Regions from separate parts of the Homo sapiens genome. Here region 2 is linked to region 1. Evidence: promoter capture Hi-C in human tissues and cell types (Jung and others, 2019). All regions are on one chromosome and are shown on one strand. The core of a region is centred on a gene start or on the middle of the fragment in contact, and the rest is flanking DNA. Distances in the headings are between cores, read along the strand shown.

Region 1 (4,951 bases), core at 657-3,156:
CTGCGTTGACCCTTAGGCTGGGATCTTAACCATTGTAAGTCTTGGTTTTCTCATCTAGAAAATGGGGATCCTGACATCCATCTTCTAGACCTCTGTCTGTGGATTGAGACAGTGACTGTAACTCTGTTCCCTGTATCTACTTTTACTCCATGGTAGTTGTGGTAATTACTATTATTATTACTATTACTATATCATCTTTCCCCAGATGACTCCAAGGGTATACAGTCTCTTCAAGCACATCTGGCCTTTTTCTCCTCCATGCTCAACCAGAACTCTTGAACTTTCCCTTAGTTGGAGAGGTCAATGGTTAGAAGGAAGAAAACTCCGCAACCCACTCCCTCCCTTTGCTCTCTCTCTGGGGCACCGTGGGCAGCTCTTGCTGCAGAGAGCTGTGCTGAGGCCCTTTACTACAGAACCTGTACAGCGCACCCTCCAACAGCACTTCCATCTATGGTCCTACTCCCCAAGGATCTGCCTCCGCACAGCCCTCCCAATGTGCCTGAAAATATCAGCATTGATCCTTTCCCTGGCCACCTTGCTCTTAAGGCTCCTGTTCATCATGCTATGTGGATGTGGACCTCCTCGCCTCTCTGTACTGCCCATGATGGTGGATTACAGCAGAATGGGCTCACCAGTTGACAGCTTTCCCCACTCATGTCTTCTACTCACTAGCTAAGCTTGGGGTGGGTGTCCCCATTGCCCGGAAAATTACTACACAGCCCTCATATCAAACTTGTTTTGAGAAGCATAACCATAAACCCATCTTTGGCCTATGATCCTAGGGAGTCCTCATGCCAACAAGACCTTTTGGGGTCAGCCACGCATGTGAAGTTAGAATGCAGTTTAGGCTGTGCCATGAATCTGAACTAAATATGATTTTAGGGGTGAGGAAACTGGGACCTAGGGGCTTGGGGAACTGGCCCGAAGGTATGGAGAGTACCTGACCTTGTCGTTCTTCCAGGATATGATATTTACTCCTGGCACCAATCCCCTCTACCTTGTACTGAAAGCAAGGACAGCCTGCCTGCAACCACACATACAGGTGGCCATCCAGCAGGTGCATACTAAATGTGTGTTGAGTTGAATTATTAGACTCTTTCTAAGCAACCTTGCAGCATTGAAGGGACCGCAATCCCTTTGCCTCTGCGTCCTTAGGGCTAAACTCGAGGTCTCGATGTCTTGCACTGTGGGCTGGGCCGGGTTTGGTGCCTCACCCAGCAGGTAAGTGCTGTCTACGCCTCCCACAGGTCCAGTGGCTCCTCTCCAGACTTGGGTGCACTGGGCCAGGCTGCACCTTACTAATCTCAAGGCTTCCTGTGTTTGTGGCTTTGGGGCCCTCTTCATCGTGTGAATAGGAATAAGAAGATTGTTATTTCTGGCCGGGTGCAGTGGCTCACGCCTGTAATCCCAGCACTTTGGGAGGCCGAGACGGGCGGATCACCTGAGGTGGGGAGTTCGAGACCAGCCTGATCAACATGGAGAAACCCCGTCTCTACTAAAAATATAAAATTAGCCGGGCGTGGTGGTGCATGCCTGTAATCCCAGCTACTAGGGAGGCTGAGGCAGGAGAATCGCTTGAACCCGGGAGGCGGAGGTTGCGGTGAGCCGAGATCGCGCCACTGCACTCCAGCCTGGGCAACAAGAGCGAAATTCCGTCTCAAAAAAAAAAAAAAGATTGTTATTTCTGAAATAAACCCCTATTTCTCACTATTTAATAATTTAGCAATCTTGACTCACAATCCAAATCCAGGCACCCCAGACCCACCCACGGCCCGTTGCCTAGCAACAGCCTCCCCACCCCCGCCTCCGCGCCTTTTCCCGCCGACTGCCCAGTGCGCACGCTCAGAGCCTTCCTCCACACCCCGCCCCTGCAGGGCGCGCGGTGGTGACGTGTAGAGTGCGCGACGCTTTTGGCGACCCGACCTCTGGCTAACCTACCCCCGGAGCCATGGCCTCTGCTGGGGTGGCAGCCGGGCGACAGGCGGAGGATGTATTGCCGCCAACGTCCGACCAGCCGCTGCCTGACACCAAGCCGCTGCCGCCTCCTCAGCCGCCGCCGGTCCCTGCGCCTCAACCGCAGCAGTCGCCGGCGCCACGGCCTCAGTCACCTGCCCGCGCGAGGGAGGAAGAGAACTACTCCTTTTTACCTTTGGTTCACAACATCATCAAATGGTAAGAACCTAGGAGAGGACCAGGCCCCATACTCCCTCCAGCTTCTCCTCTCAGCCGTTTCAGAGCTGCAAGAGGCCTTGGCGCTCTGGGGCACGCCCCCGTTTCACAGATGGGGAAACTCAGACCCAGAGCGGGAAGAGGCCTTTCCCAAGACCACAGAGACATTCCATGAGTTAAGCAAACGATTTGAGCCTCGAGAGGTGCGATATCCTTAAGAATGAAGCCAGCTTAGAGACTAAATGCAGACTCTTGTCCAGCGGCTCAAATGTTCATCCCAGCGATCTTGAGCAAATTAAATCTCTTTAAGCCTCAGTTTTCTCACCTTTAATGTTGGTAATACTCACTTTAGTTCCTTAGTTCAGCAAACTCAACAGATAAGCATCATCTTCCCTGTGCCAAGTGCTACGGGATGGACGCAGTAAAAGGGGCCAACTTTTCACCCCCAAAGGTTTAGATAGAAGGAAAAAAAGACATGATTGGGAATAACCCACAATTCAAAAAGATTGAGACGGGAGTGGTGGCGATGGGAAACATTAGACTAAGCAGAAACACAGAAGTTGCCTCAGATGATTAGACCCACTTGTACTGACTTTGTTCTAACAGTACCAAAGGAAATAATTGTTGTCATCCTTTTGGCCAGCCTTCAGGGTAGCCTGAGTTTTCAAAGTGACTCTGTAGAGGAAAAACCAAAAACAAAAACACAAAAGTCTCACTGATCCTTATGTTTGCCTAAATTATTATTTTTTTTGAGAGAGGGTCTCGCTCTGTCACCCAGACTGGAGTACAGTGGCGTGATCTCGGCTCACTGCAGCCTCAACCTCCTGGCCTCAAGCCATCCTCCCACCTCATCCTCCCAAGTAACCGGAACCACAGGCATGAGCCATGGCACCCAGCGAATTTTTGTATTTTTTGTAGAGATGGAGTTTCACCATGTTGCCCAGGCTGTAAATTATTTTCATTATGTTACTTCACTGTATATCCACGTGATACTAGGTGTAAACCCCTAGGCTTGTAACTCTTACTCAACCATTAAAGACCAAAACAAAGTAAATTAAAAGAAAATTACGATTCCAGTAACATTCAGGTGAACATGAATGTGCTCTTCACTGTTTTACTGAAATGGAATTGTTACAACGTGAAGGTCTTGACTGTTAGTGGCCCACCCACTTTTGAGTTTAAGCAAATTAGATTCACTTGCTGTGGGATGACCTGATGCTCTTCTGCCACTTTTCAAATAACTACAAAGGCTTTGTTCTCACATTAGACCCTGGCTTCATTTGGTTTCACTTGGTGTTTAAATACTGTTTATAGGGGCCAGGCATGGTGTCTCATGCCTGTAATCCCAGCACTTTGGGAGGCCAAGGCGGGCGGATCACGAGGTCAGAGTTTGAGACCAGCCTCGTCGACATGGCAAAACCCCATCTCTACTAAAAACACAAAAATTAGCCGGGTGTGGTGGCGGCTGCCTGTAATCCCAGCTACTCAGGAGGCTGAGGCAGGAGAATCACTTGAACCCGGGAGGTGGAGGTTGCAGTGAGCCGAGATCATGCCATTGCACTCCAGCCTGGGCAACAAGAGCAAGACTCTGCCTCAAAAAAAAAAAAAAAGTAATGCTTATAGGATAAGGCAGCCTATTCAGTTTTCGTGAGCCTGTGATAATGATCATAGACAGAAATACATATGGAGCCCCTGTAATCCTAGGGCAGTGCTGGATTATAAAGGGTTTATTCTGATTAACCCTAGTTTACTGGTTTTAAGAAAAATGTGGAAAAATGAAAACACAAAATGTACACATTCACAAGGACAGCTCTTGAACTCCCCAAGAGTATATTCTTGAGCCCTGGTAGAGCAGCTGGGTTGGGTTGGCCTTAAAAGATGTAGTAGTAAGTTATACTAGAGAGAACAGGCTTTGAAGTTAGACAGCCCTGTGTTCAAATCTGTGTACTGACATTTTCTTGCCTTCTAATCTTGATATAAATGCCTAACCTTTCTAGGCCATAATCTTCTTATCTCTAATATGTCCATAGTGGACCTCAAAAGAGAGGTTCAGATTATGTCATAGCTCTATAATGTGCTGACTGGGTGACCTTGGCAAGTAGCTTAGCTTCTCTGAGCCTGTTTTTCTCTTGTGAAATGGGAATGCTTATGTCATAGGATTGTTGGGAGATGTACTCAGGAGTGTACCTGTGAAACATAGTGGGTTGATCACATGTGCTTGTCTCTGTTCCATCTAAAAGGACAGAGAAGGGAGTTTAAAAAAAAAAAAAAGCATAAAACCTTCAGACATGGTGGTTCATGCCTGTAATCCCAACACTTTAGGAGGCTGAGGCGAGCCGGTCGCTTGAGCCTGGGAGTTCAAGACCAGCCTGGGCAACATGGCAAAACCCCGTCCCTACAAAAAATACAAAAAAAATTAGCCAGGCATGGTGGTGTGTGCCTGCAGTCCTGGCTACTTGGGAGGCTGAAGTGGGAGGATCACTTGAACCCAGATCATGCCACTGCATTCTAGCATGGGTGACAGAATGAGACCCTGTGTCAAAAATAAAAAGCATAAAACCAAAAAGAATAGGACAGGAGATGATTGCCACAAAGTGGATGACCAGGGCTAATTCATCTACCAACTCCTAAGCACCTGGTTTGTTAACCATGGCCTATCCCCAGATCTCAGGAACTCTAGTGCAAGGACCCCCTGGAAATAGGGGTGAAGGTGGGTCTAAGAACAGGAAGATTACTTGGAAGTCTGTTTAAGAAGCAGGTCCCCACAGTCCTGTCCCACCTC
Region 2 (4,951 bases), core at 1,629-4,128, 390 kb before region 1:
AGCAGATCACGAGGTCAGGAGATCGAGACCATCTAGCTAACACGGTGAAACCCCATCTCTACTAAAAATACAAAAAAATTAGCCAGGCATGGTGGCGGGTGCCTGTACTCCCAGCTACTCTGGAGGCTGAGGCAGGAGAATGGCATGATCCCGGGAGGCAGAGCTTGCAGTGAGCTGAGATCACGCCACTGCACTCCAGCCTGGGCAGCAGAGTGAGACTCTGTCTCAAAACAAAAAGGAATACACACTGACCAGACCGGACCAACCTCCTTCTCTGCGGAATTATCCAGGTGCCCAGAGGCCCAGATCACAGACCTGTTCAGGAAAGGCACCTCTTCTTGTGCAATCATTTGATAATTTTTCCAAATGAATAAATTTATTTTTTAAAGATTTCCCAAAGTAGTCAATGTCTTCAAGCTCTTTGCCAGTGGTGACTGGTGAATGAGCAGTGCCCATGTTTATAGGTGAACTCTCAGGCACACGGAGGCTTGTGTTCACAAGGAGAAGCGGCTGGGTCCGGAGCACAGTCCATTGGCTTTCAGGGCTGGCATGGCCACGAGATTCCAGAAATTGAAGACAAGCCAAGGGTGTTGAGAAGGTTCTTCCAGGGTGTTGAGGATTTTTTACCCCTGCCCTCCACCCGACTTGACTTTTCAGGACACAGAGCCTTAGATGAGTCCCCATCCCGTCTTGATTTGGTCATGACAATTGAGATGTTGCCTATTTGTAACAATGAATTCCTTAATGAAGGAAGGTAGATTCTTGGCTGGAAGATGAGGTCTGAACCAGTGCGGTGGAGTCTGTGCGATGCTCTTTTCAGCAGCAGGGAGTTGGTGGGATAATAAGTGGGGCAGGGAGGGCCCTGCTCGACTGAGCTTCCTGTAGGCCACTTTGCCTTAGAGCATCTGTGGCCAGATTTAAGTTATTTTGAAACACTAAAGGTGAGTGAGCCAGGTCTGGGTGCAGGTGAACCCAGGTAGGATGGAAACGCTTCCTAAGTGCTGTGAAAGTAGAGGGTAGGGGTCATAAGGGAAGCTCAGAGCTGTTTGCTGACAAGTGACACCCACTTTTTTTCCCTGAAGTGTAATTTACGGTGACTCATGAAAGTTCACCCATTTGAGTGGAGCACGTAGAGGTCGGAGCATTCTCTGTACCTCCGTGGGAGCTTCAAGATGGATGTTCTCTGGAAACTGGAGGCTGAGCTTTAAGCCCCCTCCCTTCCTTTTGTCATAGTTGGGAGGTTGGGGGAGAAGAGCTAATGACAGGTCCGGGAAGGGCTTGGGACCCAGTCTTATAAGTCTCTTGGACCCGGAACTGTTAGGCAGGGGCAGGTTCTGCCTTTGGGAGCTTTCTTGTTGTTTGCACCTCTGCCCAGAGGCCCAAGTGACATTTCCCACACTGAAAGAATCAGGGAATGGAAGCCAGCAAAGGTTAATCATGGGACTGTGTGGACCAAAAACAGCCAACTCCTGAGGGTGACAGTTGGGGGTTCCCACTGTGACCTGATCCAGACCTTCCATTTTGTAGTGAGGAAGCTTAGCTAGGGGGAGGGGGAGGGAGTGACTGAACCACAGATGTGGACAAGCAGCCGGGTCCCTGGATCTCCTGTCCCGACTTAGAGCCTGGGAGTTGCCCTTCAGGGAAGGAAAGAGGGAGAGGGAAGTGTGTGGGGCAGTTTGAATGTTCTGTGCCTCCAGTATTAGATGTTCTGTACCTCCAGTGTTGGAGTCATACGTGGATGGCTGAGCCCTGTAGAGGGAAGAAGTTGGAGCAGAACGTGCCAGAGTGAGCAGGCAAAGAGGATCAGAGGAAGGGACCTCTGCAGGTACTGAGAGGGCTCTGCAGGTCACCCTGGGTCATTCTGGAGAGCCAAGAGAAGACACAGGTTGGCCCTGGCCAGACGCGAGTCCTCCCTGTGTTCCTAACCCGAGGACACCTGTCAGAGCATGCGGAGCACCTTGCCCTTAACTTCCACGAGGATCTCCCTCTACAGGACGGTGAGCGCCTCTAGGCAGCACTGGTGTCTGCCTGCGTAGACAGGGCACATGTTGGTTGGCTGGCGAATCAGGCAGCTGTCCTCCCCAGCTCTTTCTTGCTTGAGTTTCTGATGTAAAGATTTCAGGTAGGCCACTCCCAAAAGTCCCCCTTCTTTGAATCTCAGGCCGCACTGAGAGGATTTGGTGACCTCAGGTGCCCAGTGAGTGCCTTTCTGTCTCATCAGGACTGTCCCGTGCGCTTACCTTCCTGTTACATAAGTGGTGAGTCAAGGACACAAAATGGGAATTAGCTGCCAGCCTGTGTTCAGGGCTATAATGAGATACCCACATTCTCTCTCTGCCTTCCCTGTGTTGCCTGAGTGGAGTGACTGCTGGCCACCCACAATTGATTATCAAGGGGCTGAAGAGGGGTTCCACCTGGTTATCCACTTAGGTGCTCTCTGTTCAGACTTTTGCCATGTGCACAGCTCTTTCAGTGATGGAAGGTGATGGGAGCGGCGAGAGCTGTCGTGAGGGTAAAGGGGTTTCTGTGGCCCACACCCCGCACTGGGGAGGCAGCCAGGAAGATGGGCTGTGATTGGCACCCTTGCTGGTCTATCTTCAGAGCTGTGGGTGGACTTCTCTGCAGCAGCTGTGACGGTACCCTGCAGCGTGAAGGCTCGTGATAACGTACTGGGCGTCTCCCTCCCACACAGAGAGAAATGACTTTAGATATTAAGAAAGTGAAAAGCTTGGAATAGTTGGTTAGGAAACTAATTAAGTAAGAGCGGGGAAAGAAGTGTCAAAAAAAGTCATTTCATGGGAGGTGCAACAGAAAATATTTAGGGTTGAAAAAGCAAAGCCACATGGCTGGTGCTAGTGTCTTCACGTGTTTGTGCAGTGCTCACACACTTGCACAAACAGGGCTGGCAGCATGGAGCCAGACTGCAAAGTCCCCCAGGGGCACATCCCTTCCACTCTCACCTTTTAGGCTTCCCTTGCTCTGCCCCCTGCTGAGATCCCCACCTGCCTGGCCATGTCTTTTGCCTGGGGCATTCCTGGAAAATATATCATGTCCAAAAACAGTCTGATGAGCTGATCCACGTAGGGCACCACTTCTGGCAGGCAATGTAGTATGTTAGTGTCTTAGCCTCTCCTGGCCTCTGCAAGACTGTTTTTCAGAAAAATCTTTTCTTTGGCCGGGAAGGAAATGTTCTTTATGGTGGGGAAAACTCTCTGAACCCGGGGAGCAGTTGCACTGGTGGGATCTCAGAGATGCAGGTCAGCAGCACAGGGACCTTAGGAAGGAGGTGTCCTTCACCTTATGCCATGTACTGGCCTGAGGGCTGGTCCAGCCCACACACAGGCACGGACCAGTCACTTGCAAACACCTGCCCTCAGTGTGTCAGAATCGAACTCCAGGGTGGCTTCCTTTGTGGGAGGTGCCAGTCACAGCACACAACATGGCAGGTGTGTTTGTTTCCTGTGGCCACTGTAACAAGTTGCCACAAACTTAGTGGCTTAAAACAACACATCTTTGTTCTCTGATGGCTCTGGAGGTTGAGAGTCCAAAATGAGTACCACTTAGCTAAGGTCCAGATGTGAGCAGGGCAGCTTCCTTCTGAGGTCCCGGGGGAGAATCCCCTCTCCACTGTTTGCAGGCTCCAGTGGCCACCTGCCTTCCTTGGCTCGTGGCCTCTTCCTGTCACCACTACAGTCTCTTGCTCCTGTCATCACATTTCCTTATCCTCTTTGTCACATTTTCCTCTGCCTCCCTCTTAGATCAGAATCTGGATGACTTTTTCTTTCATTTTTTATTTTTTAGAGATTGGGTTTTTTTTTGTCACCTATCCTGGAGTGCAGTGGCGCAGTCATAGCTCACTGCAGCCTTGAGCTCCTGGGCCCAAGTGATCTTCCTACCTGAGCCTTTCGAGTATCTGGGATTACAGATGCTCCGGTGTTGAGCTCTGGGGAGTTCAGCAGGGCTAAGTAGGACTTGTGGGGGTGCTGCTAGGTGTGAGGTGTAGGCGTGAGAAACGGGGAAAGGAAGATGGGGCCACCAGAGACTGCCCTGATGGATGACATAGTCACCACCTAGGTATCAGCATCACCCCACTTCCAGAGCATTTGTGTTTTCAGTGTGAAGCAGGATCAGGGAATGTCATTGCTGGAAAGGACCTGGAAGAGCCAGCCCCGTCCTCAGTTGGGGGCGATGGAGAAGTGGCTTTTGCTCCGGTTGGGGCAGTGTGGAGCCTGGCACTGCAGAGCTTTGAAGGTTTCCCTGACTCAAGTCAGCGTGGAAGCTGAGCCCCTCAATGTGTAGAGCGCAGCAGACACGACGCCTGGCCTCCTGTTCACTGATTCAACCCCAGGGGGAGGTGGGGAGACGGAAAAGACTCCTTGTCCTTGAGCAGGGTCGTCTTGTTGGTGAGACTGGTTTTGTGTTTCTCACGTGTGAGGTGCAGACAGGCATGGTGTTGCAGACCAAGACCTTGGGGCACGAAGGTGAAGGAACAGGGACAGAGCAGGTGGAGGAGGAGAGAGACTCCCTGGAGCCACAAGGCTCTGAAGGACTGTGCAGTCCCAGCTGTGACCTACCTCCAACCAGCCGCACTAAGGCAGGCTTGTCCCGCAGGGGCAGAAGGGTCTTACGGCCCCAACCCGTCCCCTGTCCTCATGTAGCTAATGCTTGCTTTTGGGCTTCTGTCTGTTCCTCTGCCTCGATGGAAGGGTGGTAGATGGGCTGCTCCACAAAGTCTAATAAGCAGTGAGTCATTGTCTTCCTCTGAGCCCACCAGGGTTGCACCTGGTGGCTGGGGAATGCTTTGTGATGCCCAGGGCCCAGCTGAGAAGCAGTGGTGTTGGGGTTCATCAGTGGTGTTGGCCGTCTGTCTGCAGGGTGCAGTGGCTGTCTTGGGGCAAAAGTCCAAGGCTCACTTCCTCTGGACACTGAGTACAGTTTTTGGAACCAGCAA

The links. Contacts are between HindIII fragments. The study calls those that stand out against the background at their distance.
Region 2: a fragment that was not itself captured here is called in contact with the fragment with the promoter of MED9 in region 1 in 1 of the 25 tissues and cell types used here (dorsolateral prefrontal cortex).

The regions. Positions count from the first base shown.
Region 1 is chr17:17,475,094-17,480,044 of GRCh38, forward strand. MED9 (mediator complex subunit 9) reads left to right here and starts at 1,907. Exons shown (of 2, transcript NM_018019.3): 1 at 1,907-2,172. The coding sequence starts at 1,949. RefSeq lists an enhancer at 1,911-2,010. The HindIII fragment of the contact is 13,264 bases long and covers 1-4,951 here.
Region 2 is chr17:17,085,686-17,090,636 of GRCh38, forward strand. The region is part of intron 3 of MPRIP (myosin phosphatase Rho interacting protein); the gene reads left to right. Among named protein-coding and RNA genes, the nearest start is that of MPRIP, 46 kb to the left of the region's middle. RefSeq lists an enhancer at 2,084-2,585. The HindIII fragment of the contact is 4,974 bases long and covers 392-4,951 here.